Regions from separate parts of the Homo sapiens genome. Here all the other regions are linked to region 1. The links are contacts of gene promoters, found by promoter capture Hi-C in blood cells and fetal thymus (Javierre and others, 2016). All regions are on one chromosome and are shown on one strand. Each heading gives the region's core, a stretch centred on a gene start or on the middle of the fragment in contact. The rest is flanking DNA. Distances are from core to core; before and after follow the strand shown.

Region 1 (4,053 bases), core at 1-2,500:
AGCTGCTGGGAGAGGTTGAGCTGGGGATCCCTTAAGATCAGGAGTTTGAGGCCAGACTGGGAAATATAGCGAGACTCCATCTCTAAAAAAAAAAAAATTATGTAAATTTGATTACCTATATATGGGTGTTTTTCCTCTAATAATTTCAATTTCAGATAATCTGTTACTTTAGAAAGCATAATTTTGTGAACAGCTGAGAGTCCCAGTACAGGAAAGCCCAAATCCTTTTGTTAAAACTATTCTAAAGCTTTTTTTCCTCTCGGGCTTCTAGTTCACTGGCTGTCAGCCTTTTGCGAGGCCTCTCCTGTTCCTCTCATCGATGGTAGTTTTTGACCCTCACTACTGTGTGGCCGTTTTGCTTTTTATCTACACATAAAACAGCATTTATCGACAGCAGTCTACATCTCTTTCAGGGAAATAACAAAAGTGGCTTTATCTTTTACTTTCAAAACTGGTTAGTGGTTTTCTTTGCAGGTTTCCCTGGGGCCTTTGGACTGGATTCCATTTTATTTTCCTTTTTATCAACACGAGAATCCGTCCTGGTCTTACATCCTGGAGGGCTTTTGGCTGCCTTAATTTACAGCCAAATTAGTTTGGCCTTTTCTATAGCTGGTTTACCAACCTTCTCATCTTTGCAAAGCTTCTGGGTCAGATGTGGGTCTGGGCCCCAGGACTCCTGTGTCGGCCTGACCTTTCACATAATCACTGCAGAGTTTTTCATCTATTTTTACATCACGGGGGCAGGGGAGTGGAAGCTACTTCCAGCAACAGCTCTCGGTTAATAACCAGTTTCTGCAAGTAGCAGCAGCAGCAGCAGCGTAGGGTCACGGTTAGGAATTTGGGCTTGGGCATCCAAGACTTGGCCCCAACTTCCAGTGAATTACTTCATTTCTCAGCTTCTCGGTTTCTTCAGGCCTAAAATGAGGACAAAAATACCTACCTTTCACGGAGGTGGATGTGGAGACTAACAAGGCGATAAATGTTAAAGGTATTCGAGAGAGAGAAGCCCGTGATAATGAATGACTACGATTTTTAAGCCCACAGCCAGGTTATTCCCAGAAGTTGGCCCTCCGCACCAGACCCCAGCAGCCCGCAGCCCGCCTCGGGCGAAAGGCCTCCCGGGCTCCTGCGGCGCAGCCGCGCTGACGACTTGTCGAGTAGCTCGCCGCCCTGGAGGAGCTGGGGGCTCGCGCAGGCGTCAGAGCCGGGCAGCGCGCGCCGCAAGACTAGCGCGCAAGCGCCGCGGCCTCAGGCGAACGAACGGGCGGTGTAGTGCAGGTCCGCCATGGCTGAGGCGTCACGGTGGCACCGAGGCGGTGAGGGGTCCTCTTAAGGAGTGGGAGGGACAGGGGCGATTTGGCAGTTCCAGACACCCTGAAAGGAACTCTGCGGCCCCAAATTCGTTTGAGAGATGTGACTGCCGACACCTTTAGCCCTCACAGCCTCCCCTGGGGAAGCGGAGAGGGACAGATGGTCCCATTGCACAGACGGGAAAACTGAAGCCCTGAGCGAGGTGGCGCTCGCCTCTTGCCGGAGGCTCGAGCTGGGCGTTGTCACCTGTCGAGTGACCGTCGCTAGGCCGGTCTCTAAAGTCCTTGGTTGATCTGGGGAGTCGTGACCTTGACAGAATTCAAGCCGAGGTGTTTTTCCCCTGTCCAGCAGAAACCAGCCTTCCCAAGAAGCTGTATTGAGGGTGGAGAAAACGGTTAGGACAGATGAGAGGTTTTACTTGTTTCGTATTTTGCTTTTTCATCTTAAGACTGGCGAGAAGACATCATGATATAAAATCTGTTAGTGGCCGGGCGCAGTGGCTCAAGCCTGTAATCCCAACACTTTGGGAGGCCGAGGCGGGCGGATCACAAGGTCAAGAGATCGAGACCATCCTGGCCAACATGGTGAAACCCCATCTCTACTAAAAATACGAAAATTAGCTGGGTGTGGTGGCGCGCGCCTGTAGTCCCAGCTACTCGGGAGGCTGAGGCAGGAGAATCGCTTGAACCGGGGAGGCGGAGGCTGCAGTGAGACGAGATCGCGTCACTGAACTCCAGCCTGGCGACAGAGCTAGACTCCGTCTCAAAAAAAAAATCTGTTATTAATAGTATATAGTAAAAAAATTATCCCTGCCTCGTAAAACTAAGAATTGAAAAATAGCCAGAAGCTATTGGAGCTTTCCTCCCCGCAGTGTAAGGACTAAAAGTGGCTGTGGTTTTTCCATTGTTGTCACTTATAAATTACATAATAATGTAAAGAAAAATTTTGTCTTATATCTCACAGGGGCTTCGAAACATAAGTTGCATTACAGAAAGGAAGTAGAAATTACAACCACACTTCAGGAATTGTTACTCTACTTTATTTTTTTAATAAACCTATGTATATGTAAGTACACAGATATAAAGATGCTGTTTGTTTGAACTAAGAAGTTAAAATGTGGAGATGAAAAATAAAACATACAAACTTCAAAACCACAGGCTGTCAGGCTACTAAAACTCAAAATACAGTGACACGTTTAAACATAATCTTAAATTCATTTAGATTCATTTCATTTAGAAATTGACTATTTTCAGTTCTTAAGGGGCAAAATTTTACATCGCAAATGTAAGAAGCTTCCATAGTCAATACTGACTGAATTAGAATTATTCCTTTCATTTGGCAGTTCTGTCTTGAGCATAATTCATCCCTTGGGTTGGCAACTGCAATTTGATTTTGTTTAGAGTCATATAGACACATCAGCTGAGTTTCATAAATCAAAGTACAAATGAGGCCAAAGTTCATCTTGGTGTCTGCCATTAGCTTGGTTCTTTTCACTGACCTATTGCAGTTAAAAAAATAGTTTGTGCTGAGTCAATGCAAATAATTAAGGAGGACTGGGAAAACATCTCAACCTGCATTCCTCCTACCTGTGGGTCAATAGCATTGGCTTAATATGCAAAGAGGAGTATTAAAGAGCATTTGTCGATGGCACCCAACATAACAGTAGATGAAAGCTCACTGGCAGTATTGTCTCATGTTGGTATGTGCTACACACTGGCAATTGTATAGCAATTAAGTAATTAATTGGTGTTGTAGGGGTGAGTTTGAGTCTGCTCTTGATTGAAAAGACAACTATAAAATTAGCCAGGTGTGGTGGCACACCCCTGTAGTCCTAGCTACTGAGAAGGCTGAGGTGGAGGATTGCTTGAGCACAGGAGGTCGAGGCTGCAGTGAACTGTGATTGCAACGACTGCACTTCAGCCTGGGTGACAGGCTGAGACCCTGTCCCAAGGAAAAAAAAAAAAAAGATAACTGTAGGCAACTTTATAAATTAAGATATCTTAGACTGCTTTATAAAAGCTTGGTTATGAAAACTACATGCTTACTACAGAACATTTGGAAAATGTAAAAATGTAAGTAAAAAGATCATTTATAATCCCATTATTCAGAGATTTTTAAAGAACACTTTTTTTAATATAATACAGCAACCTGAATCTCCATTTATAATGTGATTTTTTTTCTTTTTTTTTTCTTTTTTGAGACAGTCTCGCTCTGTCACCCAGGCTGGAGTACAGTGGCTCACTGCAACCTCCACCTCCTGAGTTCAAGCGATTCTCCTGCCTCAGCCTCCGGAGTAGCTGGGATTACAGGCCTGTGCCACCACGCCCGGCTAATTTTGTATGTTTTTAGTAGAGACAGGGTTTTCACCATGTTGGTCAGTCTGGTCTCGAACTCCTGATCTCAGGTGATCCACCCACCTCAGCCTCCCAAAGTTCTGGGATTATGGGTGCAACACCACGCCCCGCCACTAGTTAATATTTTTAAAAACTCATCATGTGCCAAAACACAGTTTAAAATGTTCTGTGTGCATCATCTCACTTCTCACAACAAAACTAGGGGGTAAGAGATACTATCCCTGTGATGGGACTCACACCCTTATCTGTCTGAATTCAAAGTCCATGTAACCTTAACCACTCACCATACTATATTGCCTTACTCTCATGTAGAGAAAAAGTCAACTTGCAGAATAGTGTGTATAATGTGTCCTCATTTTTGTAAAGATAAAATTATTTTCTTTATAAA
Region 2 (4,053 bases), core at 661-3,160, 260 kb after region 1:
TACATGAATTATCTCATTTAAACCTCACAGCAATCCCACAAAATAGGGTGCTATTATTGCATTTCTGCAGAGAAAACTGAAGTTCTAAAATGTTCACTAACATGCTAAAGGTAACACAGCTAAAACTGGTGCTAAATCCAGGATTTGGATCCAGGTAGTTTAACTTTCTGGAGTTAGCCTATGTGCTCTAACTACTCTGTTCTGCTTCCCTAGGCAGAAGACCAACAAGACAGCTGATTTAAGTTACTTTCTTACCTCTTCACTCTCTGTGAGTAGTCCCTGAACTGTACAAATAACTGAGGGAGCTGAAGCCACCTCTGGCTTTCCATTTTCTCCCAGTGGCTTTTCAGCTACTAAGGGGTCTCCTTTAGCTGAAAGCTCTTCAGTCTCTCTGCAGAGCTCCCTTTCTCCTTCGCTAGCTTTAATTTCCCTTCCTTCTTGTCTGGTACCAGATGGAGGGCAGCAGCCTTCACTTGATTCGTTGCTGCTGATGCACAAGGGCTCCATTAAATAAGCTACCTGCAATCAAAGTTTATTATTAGATGCACAGGAACACCACTGAAAATCATCATCCACATATCAACAATGCCACATGCTAACACTGTCACAGTGACTAAGTCTGAGAGGACAAAATGGTTTAATTAATACAATCATCTAAAATCTGCCAAAATATCTTATATACACAGGCACTGGGCTGGTTGGTGGGGACACTACAGTGAACAAGAAAGATATGGTTCTTGCCTCTTCCAGGAGTTTATGTTCTACTTTTTCATCTCAGCTGTCAACTCTGATCAATTGGGAGTGGCTGTCTAGAATAAAGTGTTGAAAATTTTGTCTACCACAGACACTTGTAGAGAGAAGTGGCAACATTTGAAATGGATGCTTGCTGATCTTGATCTAGGGTCTTCTAAATGTGTTCAATAACAGCATACATATAACTCTCTGTCCAATTCTGTTTATTTCTGGTCCTCAGCCCTTAACCAAGGTAATGACACTTAAAAATACTACCTTAAAGTTACAGCATTTTAAGCTTCAAGGAAAATTTGGGCAAGTATAACTTCCCACAACTCCAAAAGCATGAATTACAAGGATACTCATAAAGCAGTCCTTATGACCCAGGCCCCTAATGACTGAAGTATTAGAAATTCAGTCAAAAAGCATGTATTTTTTTATTTTTAATTTTTTTACTTTTGAGACGGAGTCTCGCTCTGTTACCTAGGCTGGAGTCCAATGGCACGATCTCAGCTCACTGCAACTTCCGCCTCCCGGGTTCAAGCGATTCTCCTGCCTCAGCCTCCCAGGTAGCTGGGATTACAGGCACATGCCACCAAGCCCGGCTAATTTTTTAATTTTAATTTTAATTTTAATTAATTTATTTATTTAGAGACAGAGTTTCGCTCTGTCGCCCAGGCTGGAGTGCAATGGTGTGATCTCAGCTCACTGCAACCTCCGCCTCTCAGGTTCAAGTGATTCTCCTGCCTCAGCCTCCCGAGCAGCTGGGATTACAGGCGCCCGCCACCACGCCCGGCTAATTTTTTGTATTTTTAGTAGAGATGGGGTTTCACCATGTTGGCCAGGCTGGTCTTGAACTCCTGACCTCAAGTGATCCGCCCGCCTCGGCCTCCTAAAGTGCTGGGATTACAGGCATGAGCCACTGCGCCCGGCCATTTTTGTATTTTTAGTAGAGATGGGGTTTCACCATGTTGGCCAGGCTGGTCTCGAACTCCCAACCTCAAGTGATCCACTGGCCTCAGCCTCCCAAAGTGCTGGGATTACAGGCGTGAGCCACTGCACCCGGCCCAAAAAGCATGTATTTGGTGCATATTCTGTATCAGCACCAAGTGCTGAGGACATAGCAATGAACTTAATCCCTGCCACTGTGGAGCTTATATTTTAGTAAACAATATTAAGAGTGGTAGAAGCATGTAAGGATAAGCATTCTCTTAGAAAGTTGAGGCTTTTCCAGCTTTGGAAATAAGAGCTCACTGTTACCTCAGAGAGAAAGTGGAGGAGGTTCTGGTGGCTGGCTTTCCTTGCCGCTTCCTGAGATTCCTCACTGCCTCCATCCCCAACAAGCAGTTCACTAGGTTCTCTCTCCGGGCTGCTTTCCTCTAGTTCCTCAGCCTCTGGATCCTCAGTTTCCCTCCAGTTGCCCACATCAAGATCCAGACTGGAGTCCCATGAGCTGAAGAGGGACCTGCAGTCATTGCTCAACTCAGAGTCATTGGGATGATCTTGTTCAGAATCCAGCCAAACCCACTCGTGTCCCATCTGTAAATACACAGGAAAACATGCATTAAATTCATTCAAATAAATATTCCTGAGGCATCTCCATCTCCCGAGTTCAGTAGAAAAATAAGGGGCCAGAAATTTATTTGTATTCAAGTATTCATCATTAGGAAGAATTAAAATCTTGCTGAAGGGAGACATGAGATGAAATTATATTTGTCTTTGGGAATAAAGAAAGCCCCATGTCAGTATAACAGAGATATTGCACCATACAATACAGTATAATAGAGACATTAATATTACCTAATAATTATTTTTACTTGGAATTCCTCATATTCACACCAAAAGAAGGGAAAGAACTGGAGCATAGCTAGCTCAATTATTTTCCTCTAGCCCAAATCATCCATAACTAAACCGTAAGGCAAACAAATTGAGGGGGCAGGGGATATTTTCCTCAGTGTATAAACATTTTTAACCTATGAACCATTAAACCTTCAAAACACACTTTAGGATTGCCTTTGGCATCCTTCTGGTCATATCCAAATTGATGTTGAGAAACATTAAGCTTAAAATATATCTTCCCTTGCTCTCATTACACCACTATCTTGGTTTTTTTATATCTTTCTTTGTCCTCTCCCTTTTACAACTTTCAATAAATCCCTACCTTCTATGTTCATGCTTGGTCCTCTGCTTTCTTATTAATGTATTTTAAAAAAATGTATATATACTTTGAGGTTTCAACTTTGACCTCTATTCAGGTGGCTCCCAAATCTCTCTACCTTTACTTCTTATATGAATTCTGGTGTCATTTCTCCATGCATCCAAAAGTCAATTCCCTTTAGATGCTCTACCACCTGCTGTAACATTTCTAAAATAAAAATCACATTTCCTTTATCTCCAAAATCACTGCTTCTTCCCAATTTCCTTATCCCCATCACCATTTTCTTTTCTTTTCTTTTTTTTTTTTTTTTTTTTTGAACGAACTTTCACTCTTGTTGCCCAGGCTGGAGCACAATGGCCCAATCTCGGCTCACTGCAACCTCTGCTTCCTGGGTTCAAGCAATTCTCCTGCCTCAGCCTCCTGAGTAGCTGAGATTACAGGTGCCCACCACCATGCCCGGCTAATTTTTGTATATTTATAGAGACGGGGTTTCACCATGTTGACTAGGCTGGTCTTGAACTTCTGACCTCAGGGGATCCACCCACCTTTGCCTCCCAAAGTGCTGGGATTACAGGCGTGAGCCACCACACCCGACCCCATCACCATTTTCTTAGTCTACAGAACCCACAATTCTGTTTTGACCCTTCCTTCTCTTATATTCAGTAAGCAAGTCCTCTTCCCAGTTTTCTCCCACAATAAGTTTTCTCAGTGTCCATCCTTTCCTGAATAAATGCCATAGTCTCCTAGTCAGCTTTTCTATCTTTAATCCTATCTGCTCTCAACAAATATAGTTATTCTACTCAAGGCTTTATAACAGCTATCACCTCAAATATAAATTTCTCAATCTGCCAAAGTCCTCCACAAATTTAGCCTTATTTTGTTCCCTTCACTCACATGTACACCTCCTTATTCCTTAGTATAATCCCTGTTCTAATTACATTTTTCTCCGTATTGCCACCCACCACCCCCACCAGATGCCTACACCTTCCATTCGGTTTGCTAGTCTCATTTATCACCTTCTCTACCAACTCAAAACGTATGTCCTTTAATGGACCTTTTCCACACACTTCTCCCAGCTTTTAGAGCTTGTGTTTGTATCTCATGCCTGTTTGCAGACTGCTTTGGGACTACAATGTTATTTTTTATTTTCCTTTCTTGTTTGC
Region 3 (4,053 bases), core at 931-3,430, 270 kb before region 1:
GTTCTCACAGCAGCACAGACCCTCCCAAGCAAGTTGAATCCAGTCACCAAGGTCCTGCTGTTCAGAGTCACAGGCAGCACCTGCTCCTTCCTCCACCTCCTGGCAGTAGGAGTTTGGGTCACAAGGACTTGTGAATCACGGCAACACCTAATAAGAAAGGGGGAGAAAGTTATCATCTTAGCTTCTCCAAAATTACTCAGAGTCCCAGTGAGTTCATGAATCCAAGATATCCTGAGTCACAGCCAAGGGAAATGTGTGCAATTTTTATCCTAATATTGAAGTGGACTCAGGCTGCTAGCAGCTGGCTGTTCCCCACTCCAACAGCCAAGTCCTGGCAAGACACTTGAACCTACGAGCACAGTCCCTCAAACACCACTGACTAGTGGCCTCACCCTGTGTCATCACATGGACTCACTGTGGTGACTCCCATCCCCAGCCCTAGCACCCAGCCCAACAATGCTCAGCGCCCAGGGGCAGCTATGCAGTTCTAAATTTGAATCACTGTAAGAGAAGCAATGGGTGATTCATCTCTACTTTTAGAAGACACTGGAATGAAGCGGAAAGTACAGCAGGCTGCCTTCATGGGAGCAAGAAAGACTGAATTCCATTCCTAGCTCTGCCACCAGTCAACCTGCACTATGGCCTTTGGCAAGTTCTTTGACCTCTTTAGGCTCAGTTCCCACACAAATGTCATCTAAGAGACCCTGCCAGTGTGACAATCTCGACTTTGATAAATGCTCCAGACATGTATGCTATGTTACTGTTTTAGTCCGAGTGAACCATGCTCAGCACCTAACTATAAATCCACGCATGACCCAAAATCTCACTGTAAGGGACTGAGGCTACATGGCAGATATTACAGGTTGATTCCGTCAACATCCTTCCTACTTGCTATCCTCGACTACAGCCACCAGCAAGTTGCAAGCTCAGGTTCCCAGACTGCCTGGCAGCTAGATGTGCCACGTGACCCAGTGCTGGCCACTAAGACTGTAAAGGCAAGTGTGCCAGTGTTGCAACGCTGGCTTTGTTCTTGTTGTGACTGGAATGCTCACGCAAGGCCAAGGGGAGGCAGCAGCCCTTGATAAAGCTGGCAGAATAGAAAAGAGAAGAGAAACCTGGTTCTGTCAGTCTGAGCCCCCAGGCCAACCTTGGATTTCTTTCTACTTGAGACAAATACACTCACTTCCTTATTTAGGAAAGTATCTGTCAGGGTTTCTGGTGCCTGTTGCTAAATGAAATCCTAACTTACAGGTGTTTACAGGCAGGATATTACTGCAGCCTTATTTTAACATAGTCCCACAACTATGAAATGTTCTGATTGAAGATGAGATTGAGAGAACATGGCTAAAATCAAGCCAGGATACCCCACTGGAGATATTCTGCTAAGACATCTATTTCCTGTTTATTCCTGGCTAAAGGTGCAGACACAGAAGCTTCAAGGCAGGCAGAACCTGAGTCCAGGTGCCTGGTCTTGACAGCATCTTACTTGAATCTCAGACATCTCTTTCAGAAGGTAGCTTTTTTTTCTTGAAAGCAGGCTCCTGTGTTGCTTTTTCATATAACCTTTATCTTAATAATAAAAGTAATATATTCTCATTATGGGAAATCTGGAAAATGCAGAACACAAAGAAAAAATCTTTAATCCCTTCACACAAAGAAAACCACCACTGTCTTTTTGGAATACTTTCTAGCATCTAACAATAATCACAATCATTTACTGCATGGTGTCTAATGCCAGGCAGGCATTGTGCTTAGCTCTTCACAAGTATTACTGCATTTCATTCTCACAGCACCCTAAAAGGCTTAGTCTAATTTTATTCCCATTTTACAAATAAGACAACAGGGGTTCAGTATGATAGAATACCTGGCCCGGAGACCCAGGGCTAGTGGCAGAGCTGGGATTCAAATTCATATCTGACTCCAATATCCATCTGTAGAAGAAGCAGCAGCTATTCAACCCCCACTCCCACTACCACCAATACAGGACTATATGCGTGAGTTCACAAGGTTCATACAACTTTGCATCCTTTTTTAACCTAACAGGCTATTACAAATGTTTTCTCATAACATTAAAAATCCATAAACTATATAAATATCCCATAGATTATTAGCTATTTCCCTCATGTCAGACATTAAGTAATTCTCAGTTTTTTGCTATTACAAGTAAGGCCCCAATAAATTTGTCCATAAATCTTTGTATTTTGGAGCATTTCCTTAGACTTTAAGATAATAGACTCAGTAAGTGGGTTTGAACATAAAATTGCAGGTTTGCTTGTCTCCTTCCTACCTACTTCTGGAGAGGGCAGACAATGAAGAAAGGGACATGAAATATTCAGCATATATATGAAATTCTAACCACCCACACTTAACTCTTCCCCTCTCATTAAGGCACACATGGAGTCAAGGGAAGATTCCTCACTTGTCTCACTCATCCCAGAACAGAATTACTCCAGGACCAAACTTCTTCTAAAATGTTTTATACTTAGCCAAGAAAAGTATTACAAGGTGAAAAAAACTCTAAAGGAAGAAAAAAGTTAAAGTTCATTACAACAGAAGTCTTATGTTGAAAGAATGTGCTGCAAACTCCTTCAAATTTGCACAGCACAATCTTCCTCTGCAGTCAAACAAGATGGAATGACTGACCTTTATAATGCAAAATGGGAATCGGAAGAATATTCCTGGAGTCGTGGTATGGATTAAAAGAGATAATGACTATAAAATACTTTGGATAATGCCTGGTATGTTCTGTGCATGCTGGATCAATAATGTTATCTCTATTCCAGGTTCTGGAAAACCAGATACAAGGAACTGAACTACACCATGGATATATATTTGCTCATCTCCCCATGGACCCAACCTTAGTAGTACCAACTCTGATGCCACCCCTGCCCCTGCTACTCACCAAACCCCTCACACACACTCCCCAAGAAGCTTCCACACCCGCCTGGTGCCTTACTCTAAGGCTTACCCTGAGCTGGGGTAGCACAAAGGGCATGGACTTAGAACTCTGGGTTTGAACTCTGACTTTGCCATTTATTAGCTGTGTGGCCTTCAGCAAGTTACTTAAACTCTCCAAACCTGTTATATCATCCATAAAATAGACGGATAGAGTCCCATTCAGCCCAAGGGTTGTTGAAAAGATGAGAACAAATGCACACTCTGTTCCTAACACACTGCCCCATGGCACGGGGCCAGCCACGCAGTAAAGGACAGCTATTTGTGTGATTGTGATCCACCCTCAAAGTTTAATTGAGCCTATCTCCTCCAGGAAGGGTTCCCTGGCTTTGCCAGTTCTCACCAGTCTTTCATGTGCTAAAACCTGTCTAGCGTATGTCATTTAGAACTTGTATATGCATCATCTTGTCTTCCCAGTTGTCCAATTCGACCCTGGACAACAACAATCGCATCTTATGCCATCTAGGAGCCTGGCACAAAGTAAACCAGGAATGGCAATGAAATTCTAAAATCACTTGTGACAACTCAGTTCAGTTGGAAGTGGTTCGATGGAATGAATGTTATAAATTCTGAGGCTATCTTCAGGTTCACAGGGTTCGGGCAGGGGCAGGGGTTAATAAGTGCTAATTATCAATATCTGTCATGAGTGCAGAATGAAGGAGTGGTGGCCATGTAACAATTACCTGTCATCCCTGGAGGAGGCACTCAGGCCCAAGTTAAGCAAGCTCACATCCCCTCATCCCACTGGCCCACCCAACCCTCATTCCCCCAGTGTGTTGGAGGCCTCTCGGATGGGCATGGAGATGGCACACACTGACCTGCATAGCTCCGCCCCGTGCTCATGTTCGTTGGAAGCAGCGTCCATTTGTCAGTGACAGGATTGTAGTACTCCACCGAAGCCAAGTTGCAGGATCCATCATCCCCTCCAACCACATACAGGAGCCCATTTACTGCACAGACCCCTGTGAGTCAAACAAAAGCCATGGGAGACATCACAGCAGGTGCACTAAGAGATCAGAATTGATCAAGAGACAAATCTGGATAGCCTGGGAGGCTCTTTTCCTCCCTTCATGGCAATACAACAGAGATTTGGCTCCA

What was found. The method cuts DNA at HindIII sites, captures the fragments that hold promoters and counts their contacts. A CHiCAGO score of 5 or more calls a contact.
Region 2: a fragment that was not itself captured here is called in contact with the fragment with the promoter of PKD2L2 in region 1 in 3 of 17 cell types (M2 macrophages, M1 macrophages and M0 macrophages); the score reaches 6.4 in M2 macrophages.
Region 3: a fragment that was not itself captured here is called in contact with the fragment with the promoter of PKD2L2 in region 1 in 1 of 17 cell types (M2 macrophages); the score reaches 5.3 in M2 macrophages.

The regions. Positions count from the first base shown.
Region 1 is chr5:137,888,207-137,892,259 of GRCh38, forward strand. It overlaps PKD2L2 (polycystin 2 like 2, transient receptor potential cation channel), which reads left to right and starts at 1,251. Exons shown (of 15, transcript NM_001300921.2): 1 at 1,251-1,316; 2 at 2,275-2,376. The coding sequence starts at 1,286. It overlaps PKD2L2-DT (PKD2L2 divergent transcript), which reads right to left and starts at 1,113. Exons shown (of 4, transcript XR_948815.3): 1 at 941-1,113; 2 at 1-82. The HindIII fragment of the contact is 1,963 bases long and covers 639-2,601 here.
Region 2 is chr5:138,150,490-138,154,542 of GRCh38, forward strand. BRD8 (bromodomain containing 8) reads right to left here. Exons shown (of 27, transcript NM_139199.2): 21 at 1,993-2,271; 22 at 256-519. Among named protein-coding and RNA genes, the nearest start is that of NME5, 13 kb to the left of the region's middle. The HindIII fragment of the contact is 1,764 bases long and covers 1,029-2,792 here.
Region 3 is chr5:137,621,980-137,626,032 of GRCh38, forward strand. KLHL3 (kelch like family member 3) reads right to left here. Exons shown (of 15, transcript NM_017415.3): 14 at 3,774-3,917; 15 at 1-147. The coding sequence ends at 119. Among named protein-coding and RNA genes, the nearest start is that of MIR874, 24 kb to the right of the region's middle. RefSeq lists an enhancer at 940-989. The HindIII fragment of the contact is 1,498 bases long and covers 1,432-2,929 here.